3 separate regions of the Homo sapiens genome follow, and regions 2 and 3 are each linked to region 1. The links are contacts of gene promoters, found by promoter capture Hi-C in human tissues and cell types (Jung and others, 2019). All regions are on one chromosome and are shown on one strand. Each heading gives the region's core, a stretch centred on a gene start or on the middle of the fragment in contact. The rest is flanking DNA. Distances are from core to core; before and after follow the strand shown. Region 1 holds the start of ASB18 (ankyrin repeat and SOCS box containing 18). Region 2 has its middle 52 kb from the start of ASB18. Region 3 overlaps ASB18 (ankyrin repeat and SOCS box containing 18).

Region 1 (3,757 bases), core at 825-3,324:
TACAGGAGACCACTTACAGGTGGCAGCAGCCACAGCGGATGGCCATTCCTAACCCTGTACCTGATAGGGCTGGAGGAGGGGCAGGAGCTGCTGGGCAGGAGCCAAGCCTTCCACAGAAGGAGGCTGCTAAACCCAGCAGCGATCTGGCAGGGAGGGCCGGGGAAGCACTTGCCCTACCCTCACTTTCCTCCAACTCCTATCATTAGTGGCACCCAACAGGAGCCAGAGGGCAAGTGGGACTGATGCAGTTTGCAGAGATCAGCCTCGGGGGGGTGCTTGGGCACGGTGGGCCTAAAGGGTGAATGCAAGATGTACAGCTCAGCACTCCCAGTCCAATCACTGCTTGTGATGACAACCTCCCCTAAACCCCCCCCAGGGCAATCTTCTAGAGAGATGGAAGGTACCAAGTTTGGGATCATGGCTCCTGGGCCTATGGACCCCCGCCAGATATTAGGAAAACCAAGGTGAAGAGGAAGCAAGAGAAGGTTCCTCCCTAAAGCGACTTGCTTAAGTCCCCACTGAAAGGCAGCCCAGAAAGTAGACCCAAACCAAGGGGGGGGGGCGGACCCCCTCGGAAGTTCCAATCTCAGACTCCTCGCCTCAGCACCCTGCAAGCTCCATTCCCTAGCAGCAACTCCCACTCATGTCCCATCTGTGTTCCTCCTGCATGTTGCGCACACGTGTGCATGTGATGCATGTACTTGCGTGTGCGTGTGTGCACCTATGTTGGGAGGGAGAATGGGGGTGGAAAGGAGCCCTCAGCATCCCTTAGAGGCCAAGACTAACCTTGTCCCCTAATCTGACAAGCTGGGAAACAGCACAATACAACTAAAAGTAAATCACAGGTCAGGAAAACACTTTCAGGAAACCTAACAAAGGGATGATGTCTATGTTACGTGAAGAAGTCCTACAAAATGATAAAAATGATTCCAAGAGATGGAGAGTTCCTGCCCAAGACCCAAATAGACAGGTCTTGCACCTGATGAGGCCTACAAAGAAAAAATCCTATGGACAAGACTTTGTCCAGACCTGCAAAGAAAGGATGGGCGACAGGCAGTGAAGAATTACCAGTGTGTGCTTATCAAATGGCAATTTAATACAAACATTCATTACCAGTGATGCTCCTTGGTGAGGTTGTGGTGAAACACATCACCTCACTGTCAGAGGGAACAGAAACCCTTGCGGAAAACAATTTGGAACCAATTTAGAAACAATACAATTTGAAAAAATGTTATGTTCTTGTTCCAGTTATATGGCTCCTAGGAATTTATGGTAAGGATATAATCCCAAAAAAGAAAAAAGCCGTATGAATCCTAATAAAGATGTTCGTTACAGCATTATTTATAGAAGCAAAAAGGTAACCAAATACTATCTTTTTGTAGGCATTTGGTTTAAGTATTTCAGTAGGGGATTGAAATTGGGAAGACTATGTAGCAACATGGAAAATGCTTTAGATTTAGATTTTGTAGATCTCAAGGGAGCAGAACACACAATTATGTGTATGATATGGTTATCAGTGGGTGAAATTTACACACGCAAATGGACAGGCTTGGAAAACAATGGAGCCACAGAGCAGCCACTGTGGTAGGATTAGTTTTTTTGTGTTGTGTTGCACTTGTTGCTTATGTCGCACACGCATGTACATGGTCTATGCAGTACACATATATGCATGTATGTATGAGAGTCAGATATCCGAGTACATATCATTTACTTTTTCCAAACATTTGCCCCTCTACCTCCAGGATCTGCCCACCCCATCAGTGTAACTTAGTAATTAAATCCCAGATGCAGCAGGCTCGTTCTGGTTACCTAGCAGCATGCCGGTGGGCAGCTGAGCCGAGGGGTCTTTCATCCAGTCGTCATTGGCCAGTTCTATCACAGCGTCCACAGGCGTGATTTCAGTGCAGATTAAATCCCTCACTCTCTCCTCATCTTTGGCATCCAGGGCAGACTTTAATCTCTTCACTAAATCTGAGTTGAGTGGGTAGTCGGGAAGGTAATCCGAGTTGGACATTGTTACGTCGTTTCTGCAGTGACCAGCCCTTCTTTTCTTCCTCTAAAGCGACTCCAAAGTCAGCAGCTGTCCGTGAGAGTGGCGTGGGGGCTGCTATAAATAGCAGCACCCTGGCTCCTCTTACAGTCCCTGCGGAGGGCCACCTGCCAGCAGGGAGGTGTGAAGTAATCTTTCCAGAGGCCTCAGCAAAGGATTATTCTAGAGATGGGGGCAGCAGACATGTTTGTGAGTGGTGCAAGAAGGAGAGACAATATTTTCAAAGACAGCTTTCATGGGTATTGTTGAATAATATCTTCTTTTATCAAAAGTGAGGCTCTCTCCTGAAACTTTGAAAACCTCTTCCTGGCACTGGGCTTGGACCTCTATTCTGTGGAAAGGAACATTTTCTAATATTCTACCCCTTGTGTTCCTTCACTTCCTCTAAAAGGAGCGTCTGGTCACCTGCAAATTGGACATGCCTCAAACGCATAGAATGGAATGGAATCTTTGGTTTCCAAATGCAGAGAAGGACTGGCTGATCTCAGGAAGACGGAAGCATCACAGAAAAACAAAAAAAAGTAACCTAAATATTACCTGTGACCTCCCTATGCCTCAAGGCTGGTAAACTTTGCTCAAAGCCTATAATTCCATGACTTGTGGAAGTGTGGAGCCCTCAGGGGGATTTCTGTGCACTCCTAGGGGCAAAGGTGGGGCTTTCTCTCCTTGACCTGTGTCTTCAGTGTGCTTGGGTCTCTGTGTGCCAACCTGTGCATAAGCACAGCTGTGCCTGAAGCTTCTCTGCTGATGCCAAGTGTGCTGTGGTCTCTGAGGGCCCAGGGCGGGCCGTGGAGCTTACAGGGCCTCCTTCGCCTTGCCTTCTATCTCGCCATCTTTTCCATTCCTTACTTTCTTTCTTCTCCCCTGTGCTTAATTTTATGTCTCAATTTGGCTAGGACCCCAGTGCCCAGAGACTTGGCCCAACACTAGTCTAGATGTTTCTATGAAGGTGTTTTTGGGATCAGATTAGAATTTCTTGAACCGGCAGACTTGGAGTGAAGCCGATGGCTCTCCCTAATGTGTGTGGGCCTCCATCAATCAGTTGAACGTCTGAATAGAACAAAAGACTGACTTTCCCTGAGCAAGAAGGAATTCTGGCGGCAGACAGCCTTTGGTCTCAACCTCAGGTCTTCCCTGGGTCTCCAGCCTATCAGCCCACCCTGCTGATGATGGATTTACCAAGTCTGCACAATAGTATGAGCCAATTCTTGAAGAGAAATTCTCTCTCTCTCCCTACATAACTGTTGGTTCTGTTCCTCTGGAGAACACTGACTAATACACCCTCTTCCTCCTTTCAGCTCATTTGTGTGATTTTCCAGCTTCTGTTCCATCTGCACTTGAGGTGCCAGGCACTGTAGTTCCTGCCCAACATCCATTCTCCTTCCACCTGCCCAACACAGCCTGGCTTTCTTGGTGGGGGCACTGTGCCCAGCCCCTGGGGATGAGTCATGTTGATTTAGGTCAGTAGTGTCAGTCCCAGTCTCCTTTGCCTGCACTCAATGTCCAGTCTCCCTTGCAACCCAGTTCTGGCTGCTGGGGTGAGTCTGGGAAGTTATGTGCTTTCCTGATCAAGAGGGACAGAAGTGACTGGCAACACCCTTTCCTGTTCTTGTTTCCTTGAACATGGACATGATATCTGGAGGTGCAGCAGCCACATCACAGCTGGGAGGCAACAGATATGAAATGAAGGATTAACACAGAAAGGAG
Region 2 (3,757 bases), core at 647-3,146, 52 kb after region 1:
TAATGATAAAATGTTGAACATTTTCCTGCTGAAGTCTGAAACAAGGATGTCTTCTATGATCACTTCTAGTCAACATCATAACTAAATGGCCAAGCCAGTGCAATAAAGCAAGAGAAACAAAAAGCTATGAGAATTGCAAACAAATAAATAAAACTGTAATTTTCCAAAGGCAATATGCCTATGGACGTTTAAAAACACCACAGAATCTAAAAACAAATAATTAAAATTAGATAATAAGTTTCACTTGTTGCTGGATATACAACCAATTCAAAAAGTAAATTTTATTTCTATATACCAGCAACAAACAGGTATAAAGTAAAACTTAAAAATGAAATTTATAACGGAAAATTATCAAATATCTAGAAGTGAATCTAAGGAAAGATGTGTAAGATATCTACACAGAAAATTACAAAACATCATTAAGAAAATTTAATGGCTAAAACAAGTGCTGGGAAATATCACTTTCATGGACTGGAAAACTCAATAATGTAAAGATGTCTGTTCTTCTCAAATTGATCTATAGATTCAATATAATTTACATTAAAATATTAGTTTTTTGGTGGAAATGCATAAGCTGATTATAAATTCCTTTAGAAGTGCAAAATGTCAAGCATATCTAAGACACTTTGGAGAAAAACAAGGTGGGATGACTTACTCTATGGATGCAAACCATTATTGTAAAGCTACAGTGCTCAAGTCAATGTGATATTGGCAGAATGATAGACAGATGCAGTAGATCAGAATAGAGGATTTGTAAGCAAATCACTGTCTACATAAACACTTGTTTTCATTGTTGTTGTTGTTTTTAAATACTTGTTTTCAATGATAGAGGGCACTGAAAAGCACTGGGAAAAGAACAGTCTTTTCAAGAAATGGTGCTGGAGCTTTGGGTCAATCACATATTCATATGGCTCTGAAATAAGACTTGAACCATGAACAAAAATCAATTCCAGGTAAACTCGCAGATATAAATGTGATAAGTGAAACAATAAAGCTTCTGAAAAGGGGAGAAATAGGAACGTTTTTACACCGTTGGTGGGAATGTGAATCAGTTCAACCATTGTGGAAGACACTGTGGCAATTCCTCAAAGATTAAGAACTGGAAATACCATTTGACCCAGCAATCCCGTTACTAGGTATATACCCAGAGGAATATAAATCATTCTATTATAAAGATACATGCATGTGTATGTTCATTGCAGCACTATTCACAATAGCAAAGACATGGACTCAACCCAAATGCCCATCAATAATAGATTGGATAAAGAAAATGTGGTACATATGCACAATGGAATACCATGTAGCCATAAAAAGGAATGAGATCATGTCCTTTGCAGGGACATGGATGAAGCTGGAAGCCATTATCCTCAGCAAACTAACGCAGGAACAGAAAACCAAACACCGCATATTCTCACAAGTGGCAGCTGAACAATGAGAACGTGGACACAAGAGGGGAACAACACACACTGGGGCCTGTCGGAGGGCGGCGGGTTTGGGAGAGCATTAGGGAAAAGAGGGAATGCATGCTGGGCTTAATACCTAAGTAATGGGTTGATAGATGCAGCAAACCACCATGGCACACATTTACCTATGTAACAAACCTGCACATCCTGCACATGTACCTGGAACTTAAAATAAAAGCTTCTGAAAGCTATTAGCAACAATAGTGTCATAATCTTGAGGTAGGCAAAGAACTCTTAACATAGGACACAAAAAAACTGTAACCACAAAGACAAAGTTGATAAGCCAAGTTTCCTTAACATTAAGAACTTATTTTCTTCTCTCTCTCTCTCTCTCTCTCTCTCTCTCTTTTTGAGATGGAGTCTCACTCTGTTGCCCAGGATGGAGTGCAATTGTGCGATCTTGGCTCACTGCAACCTCTGCCTCCTGGGTTCAAGTGATTCTCCTGCCTCAGCCTCCAGAGTAGCTGGGATTACAGGCACCCACCACCACGCCCAGATAATTTTTGTATTTTTAGTAGAGATAGGGTTTCACCATGTTGGTCAGGCTGCCCTCAAATTCCTGACCTCAGGTGATCCACCTGCCTTGGCCTCCCAAAGTGCTGGGATTACAGGCATGAGCCACCGCAAGAACTTTCATTAAAAGACACCATTATGACAGTGAGATGGAAGCTAAAGAGTGGGAGACAATATTCACAACCATGCACCTGCAAACAGCTTCTCACTAAAAGTATAAAATTAATAAGAAAGAAATAGACAACCCAATGGAAAAATAGACAACCAACTCAGCGGGTTTTATTAAAAAGTACGGTAATATTCAAGTGATCACTATGCATATGAAAAGATGTGCAACCCCAGTAGTCATTAGGAAAGAGGAAATTAAAACCATTGTGAGATACGACACACTCCAGAGTGGGGACAATGAAAACGCCTGACCACACCAAGTTGGAAGGATGTGGAGTAGTGGGAGTTTGCATGCATCGCTGGTGGCAGGGAAATTGGAGCAGCCAACGCAGTAAACTTGGTGGCACTGCGACCACATGTGATGATGCTCTGGGGCGAGCAGCTGTCTTCCCAGGCATATACAAACAGCAGTGTGTGCACATGTGTGCAGAGAGACAGACACAGATGTCCACAGCAGCATCATTCATAATAGCCGCAAACTGAAGAAAAAATCATAGGCGCTCAGCCGGGCGAGGTGGCTCACGCCTGTAATCCCAGCACTTTGGGAGGCCGAGGTGGGAGGATCACCTGAGGTCAGGAGATCGAGACCATCCTGGCCAACATGGTGAAACTCCGTCTCTACTAAAATACAAAAAATTAGCCGGGCATGGTGGTGCACACTTGTAGTCCCGGCTACTCAGGAGGCTGAGGCAGGGGAATCACTTGAACCTGGGAGACAGAGATTACAGTGAGCTGAGATCGCGCCACTGCACTCCTGCCTGGCGACAGAGTGAGATTCCATATCGGGGGAAAAAAAAAAAAAGATAGGCTCTCATTAACAGTAAAATAGGAAGCCTAAGTATGGCATCTACAAGGAGATACTACGCAGTGATGGAAGTGGACGAACTGCGACTGCCTGCAAGGCTGCAGGAGTCTCACAAGCTAATGTTGGCTAGAAGAAGCCCGACGGAAATGAATACACACTCTTTACTTCCATGTACATAAAGTTCAAACCCAGCTAAAAGTAACCTAGGATGCTGGAAATCAGGACAATAGTTGCCTTTGCAAATGGAGAGGGCAGTGATTAGGAGAAGGGCTTCTCAGGAGCTGGGAGCATCTCCACTTTACATTTTGCTAGTTGAGCCCTTTTCTGTGCTTGTGTCATAATTCAACAAAAGCATACATGTTTACACCCCTCATGGATATTTACATTTTTCTAAAGGATGACTAGAAAGATTTATTTCAATATAAGGAGTCTGCAATGGCGTTTTCAGGCACAATGAGTGCTATGGTTAAAGTATTTGTCTCCTCCAAAACTCATGGCCCCTGGCATGTGGAGTGCCTCTATCTGAAGAACAAGAGGAACTCAGAGCTAGAAGCCTCTTTATGGGGATCACTCCAGGTCTTTTATTGATGAAGAAATAAATATGGCTTCCTGGGGTCCCGTGGGAGGGTCCCAGATCACCCCTCATTCAGTCTCCATCCTGCTCCTCCCAGGCAGACACCGGTCTCACGGTGCGGTGTAGGGGAGCCACACTGTGTCCTGGAAAGTTCATTAGCTTGTAAAGTGGTGCAGCGCTTCTGGCCTGTTGCCAGTCCACGCCACTCTCCTTGGGTGCAGCAGTCCCGCCCCA
Region 3 (3,757 bases), core at 489-2,988, 45 kb before region 1:
CCATTGAGGGTTTCCCGGCTGCCCTTAAATCCATTTATATTTTTACCTAGAGGCTCTCAGTATTTTAAATTCTCCCTTTGGATTGTCTCGTTTCTACATCAGCAGTGTCTTGAGAAGTGGTCTGTCTTGAGTGAAAGATCTTTACAAACAAGTACAGTTTGATGTGGAGTCCTTTGGGACCAGGACTGGCTAAGGGAGGATGCAAATTTTACAGTCAGAGCGCTTCACTTTGCTTCCTATTTGCTTCTCTGGGAGGAATTTTGAACAGTGCAGCAGGACGTTAGAAATCAAGGGTTCCTTCTCGTTTTGCCACTGAGCCTGTGTGCACTTGCAAACAATTACAAAACATTTTCTTCTTTTTAAAGAAAAAATTTTTTTAAGCAGCTCAGCCTCTCTAAAGAAGTCCACAGGGAAATATGACCAGTCCCCTTTTCCACGTGCACAGCCTATAGCTGGGTAATGGCCAGGCTTTTCCACGTGCACAGCCTAGCTGGCTAATGGCCAGGCTGCTATCTGCAACACAGATACCTTTCAGAGGAATGAGGACACTGGCCCACCCTCTGGAGGGCTGCAGATGCTCTTTTCATTTTTAATGAAGAGCTTCTAGTTGGCTAAACCTTGGCACTTTTTTAGAGTGGGCAATGATTTAAGTAGCAGAACCACGGGCATGGGAAAGAAACAACAAATTGACTGGGGCACGTCTGCTGGTACACGGTGGCAGTCATTAAAAATGAAGGTGTGAGAGCCTATTTAATGGCATGGAAATACATTTGCAGTGGATGTGAACAGATCAGGTTACAAAATAGCACCACTGTACAGTCCCATTTTGAAAAAGCTTAAATATATCTATGCGTATATGAAGAATACCAGAAATTGGCCGGATGTGGTGGTTCACGCCTGTAATTCCAGCACTTTGGGAGGCCAAGGCCGGCGGATTGCGAGGTCAGGAGATAGAGACCATCCTGGCTAACATGGTGAAACCCCGTCTCTACTAAAAATACAAAAAATTAGCTAGGTGTGGTGGTGGGTGCATGTAGTCTCAGCTACTGGGGAGGCTGAGGCAGGAGAATGGCGTGAACCTGGGAGGCGGAGCTTGCAGTGAGCCAAGATCACACCACTGCACTCTAGCCTGAGTGACAGAATGAGACTCCATCTCAAAAAAAAAAAAAAAAAAAGAAAAAGAAACCAGAAATTTTTCATTTTATTTTTTAATTGATTTTAATTTTAATTTTAATTAATTTTTTTAGAGACAGGGTCTTGCTCTATCATCTAGCCTGGAGTGCAGTGGCGTGATCATGGCTCACTGCAGCCCTGAACTTCTGGGCTCCAGCAATCCTCCTGCCTCAGTCTCCCAAGTAGCTGGGACTATAGCCGAGTGCCCCCATGCTTGGCTAATTTTTTTTTGTTTTATTTTTGTATTGACAGGGTCTTGCTATGTTTCCCAGGCTGCTCTCAAACTCCTGGGCTTAAGTGATCCTCCTACCTTGGCCTCTCAAAGTGTTGAGATTACAGGCATGAGCCACCGTGCCCTGCCAAAAAACCTAGAAATTTAGAGGGCAATGTGTGTTTATCTCTGGATGATGGGCATAGTGGGAGCTTGTTTCCTTTTTGCCTGCATGCGTTTTTCAAGTTATCCAAAATAAGTCAAGGTGCAGTTTGATACAAGAACCACAACAGAGGTTATTAATAACAAAACCATCCCCACCTGCTCCAGCAACAGCTCCTGGATCCTAAGAATATCCCTTTGGCTTTCCAGGTTCCCAGAATACGCTTGAAATTTCCATCAATCTGTTTAGGTATAAGCAGCATTTTGGAACGTATGTATGGCAATGCCCATGAGAAGGTGAGGAGAGGAGAGGCCTGGGCTGGCTGGGAGCTACTCAGTGATAACAATCGTGGGGACCTCTCAGACCTGACCCCAGGACCCAGGCCCATCCTTGAAACACTATCATTTCAATCCCTCCTATCAACGTCACCAGTGGAAGAAATGGCCCAGTGGGGAAAGCTTACTGTTTGTCATTTCATTGCCTTCTCTGTATCAATGCCACCAGTGGAAGAAGAAATAGCTCAGTAGGGAAAGCATCCCTGAAGCCTTTGCAGGTCTATGTCTGGGACCCAGCCTTGGCTGAGCCTTTTACTCCAAGGCAAGATTTTGTGAGTGGGTTTCCTGCTGTCCTGATAGAAAGGCAAAAGTCAGAAAGGCCTGGGGTCAGGGTAGAACAGTCACCGTTGGGATCTAAGGGTAGAATTCCCATCTGAGGATGTCAGAACAACTTTGTCTTTATCTTGCAAGGATTAAGGAGACACCATGTTGTCTCAACAGCTTCTGATATGAAGCAACTTGGACAAACACATTAATCTCTGGGTGCCTCATCTCTGTTTTCGATAATGACTGCAATGACAGGTTGTTACAGGGGCCCAGGGTTAACAGCAGAAAGAAAAAGTAACTTGAGCCAAAAGGCAGGAGTTAATAGAGATGAACCCATCAAGGACTGTTGAATCAATGTCATTCCAATTCATGTCTATGGGGTGGGGGGATGTGGGACTTTGGCCACTCCCTGCACACCCTCCCATCCACCCTCCAGCACCTTCCCAAAGCACTGGCTTTTCCTAGTCCCTTCCCAGGGCACAAGGCCTGGAGGCCTCAGCCTGGGCTCTCCCACTGTTTCCTCCTTCCTTTACCCACCTGTCTCACCCACCTGCTCCCACCTGTCTCAGCTGCCTGCCAAGCCTCCATGCTCCCTGCATGCTCTGCCCAGATACCTCTTCTCTCAGCCAGAGCCTGTCCAGGCTTCCACTCTCTCGTCTCCCCTGCCTCCTGATCACCCTCTTTATTCAAAGCCCTGGAAATGCTGCTTCTCTGCCTCCTGGTTCTGAACTGAAAGGTCTTTTGGATTCCCCAGTACTTGGCCTTTTTTTTTTTTTTTAAACAACTATTTATCTTTAGTCCCTGAAACAACTTTGCATTGTAGGTGGAATTTACAGTTGGGGAAATTGAGGCTTAAAAGGCCAGTGACATGCATAAGGCAGGAAGTGGCAAAGCAGAGGTCTCGTTGCTTCATGAGGCTTCCCACTGTCAGTCACACACCCCTCCACTGCCCCTTCCCACTGGTTTTATTTGTTAAGCACCTTCTCTGAGGCAGGTTCTGTTCTAGGCGTTTTCCACAAGTTATGAGTGACCTTTTCATTCATTCAATAAGCAGAGAACATGTGCCATGCTCCTTTCGAGGTAAGGAGAAGTGTTTCTCCTCTTATCACTCCACAGGAATTCCTGGACAGACTCACCGACAGGACACTGAAGGCAGGGCAAGGCGACCCATGGACCTCATTCTACGGGGTGGCACAGTAACCGGTTCTCACCCAGTCCTCCTAGCTACCTGGCACGGTAGATGGCATCCTCCCTCCTTTTTGGTGAGGAGTTCATCTTTGAGGTTTAAGCAGTGGTCTAAAGGGCAGGGCCCGGCAGAGGATGGTGGCCTTGCAGTCAGTGTGTCCTGTTTGGGATATGAACTCCAGCCCCCACTATCCAGTGGTGAATACAAGGACTCCACAACCACCAAAAGATGATGCTGACTGAGCAATGCAACAACAACAACAACAACAACAAACAGCTGCTAAAAATAAGGCTGCATTCAAGACTCAAACGTCACCTTTTGTGTGTGAGTGGGGAAAGGGACATTGCTTCTGAACATTTTGTTAGTAATGTTAAACATCTCATATGGTTTGGTTGTGTCCCCACCCAAATCTCACCTTGAGT

The links. Contacts are between HindIII fragments. The study calls those that stand out against the background at their distance.
Region 2: a fragment that was not itself captured here is called in contact with the fragment with the promoter of ASB18 in region 1 in 3 of the 25 tissues and cell types used here (aorta, mesenchymal stem cells and spleen).
Region 3: a fragment that was not itself captured here is called in contact with the fragment with the promoter of ASB18 in region 1 in 3 of the 25 tissues and cell types used here (dorsolateral prefrontal cortex, liver and spleen).

What each region holds. Positions count from the first base shown.
Region 1 is chr2:236,262,332-236,266,088 of GRCh38, forward strand. ASB18 (ankyrin repeat and SOCS box containing 18) reads right to left here and starts at 2,075. Exons shown (of 6, transcript NM_212556.4): 1 at 1,810-2,075. The coding sequence starts at 2,014. The HindIII fragment of the contact is 6,526 bases long and covers 1-3,757 here.
Region 2 is chr2:236,314,367-236,318,123 of GRCh38, forward strand. It overlaps a transcript of DRC11 not described here. Among named protein-coding and RNA genes, the nearest start is that of ASB18, 52 kb to the left of the region's middle. The HindIII fragment of the contact is 5,156 bases long and covers 1-3,757 here.
Region 3 is chr2:236,217,642-236,221,398 of GRCh38, forward strand. All of the region lies in intron 3 of ASB18 (ankyrin repeat and SOCS box containing 18), which reads right to left. LOC124908000 (a long non-coding RNA gene) reads left to right here. Exons shown (of 2, transcript XR_007088137.1): 2 at 3,266-3,757. Among named protein-coding and RNA genes, the nearest start is that of ASB18, 45 kb to the right of the region's middle. The HindIII fragment of the contact is 3,997 bases long and covers 1-3,737 here.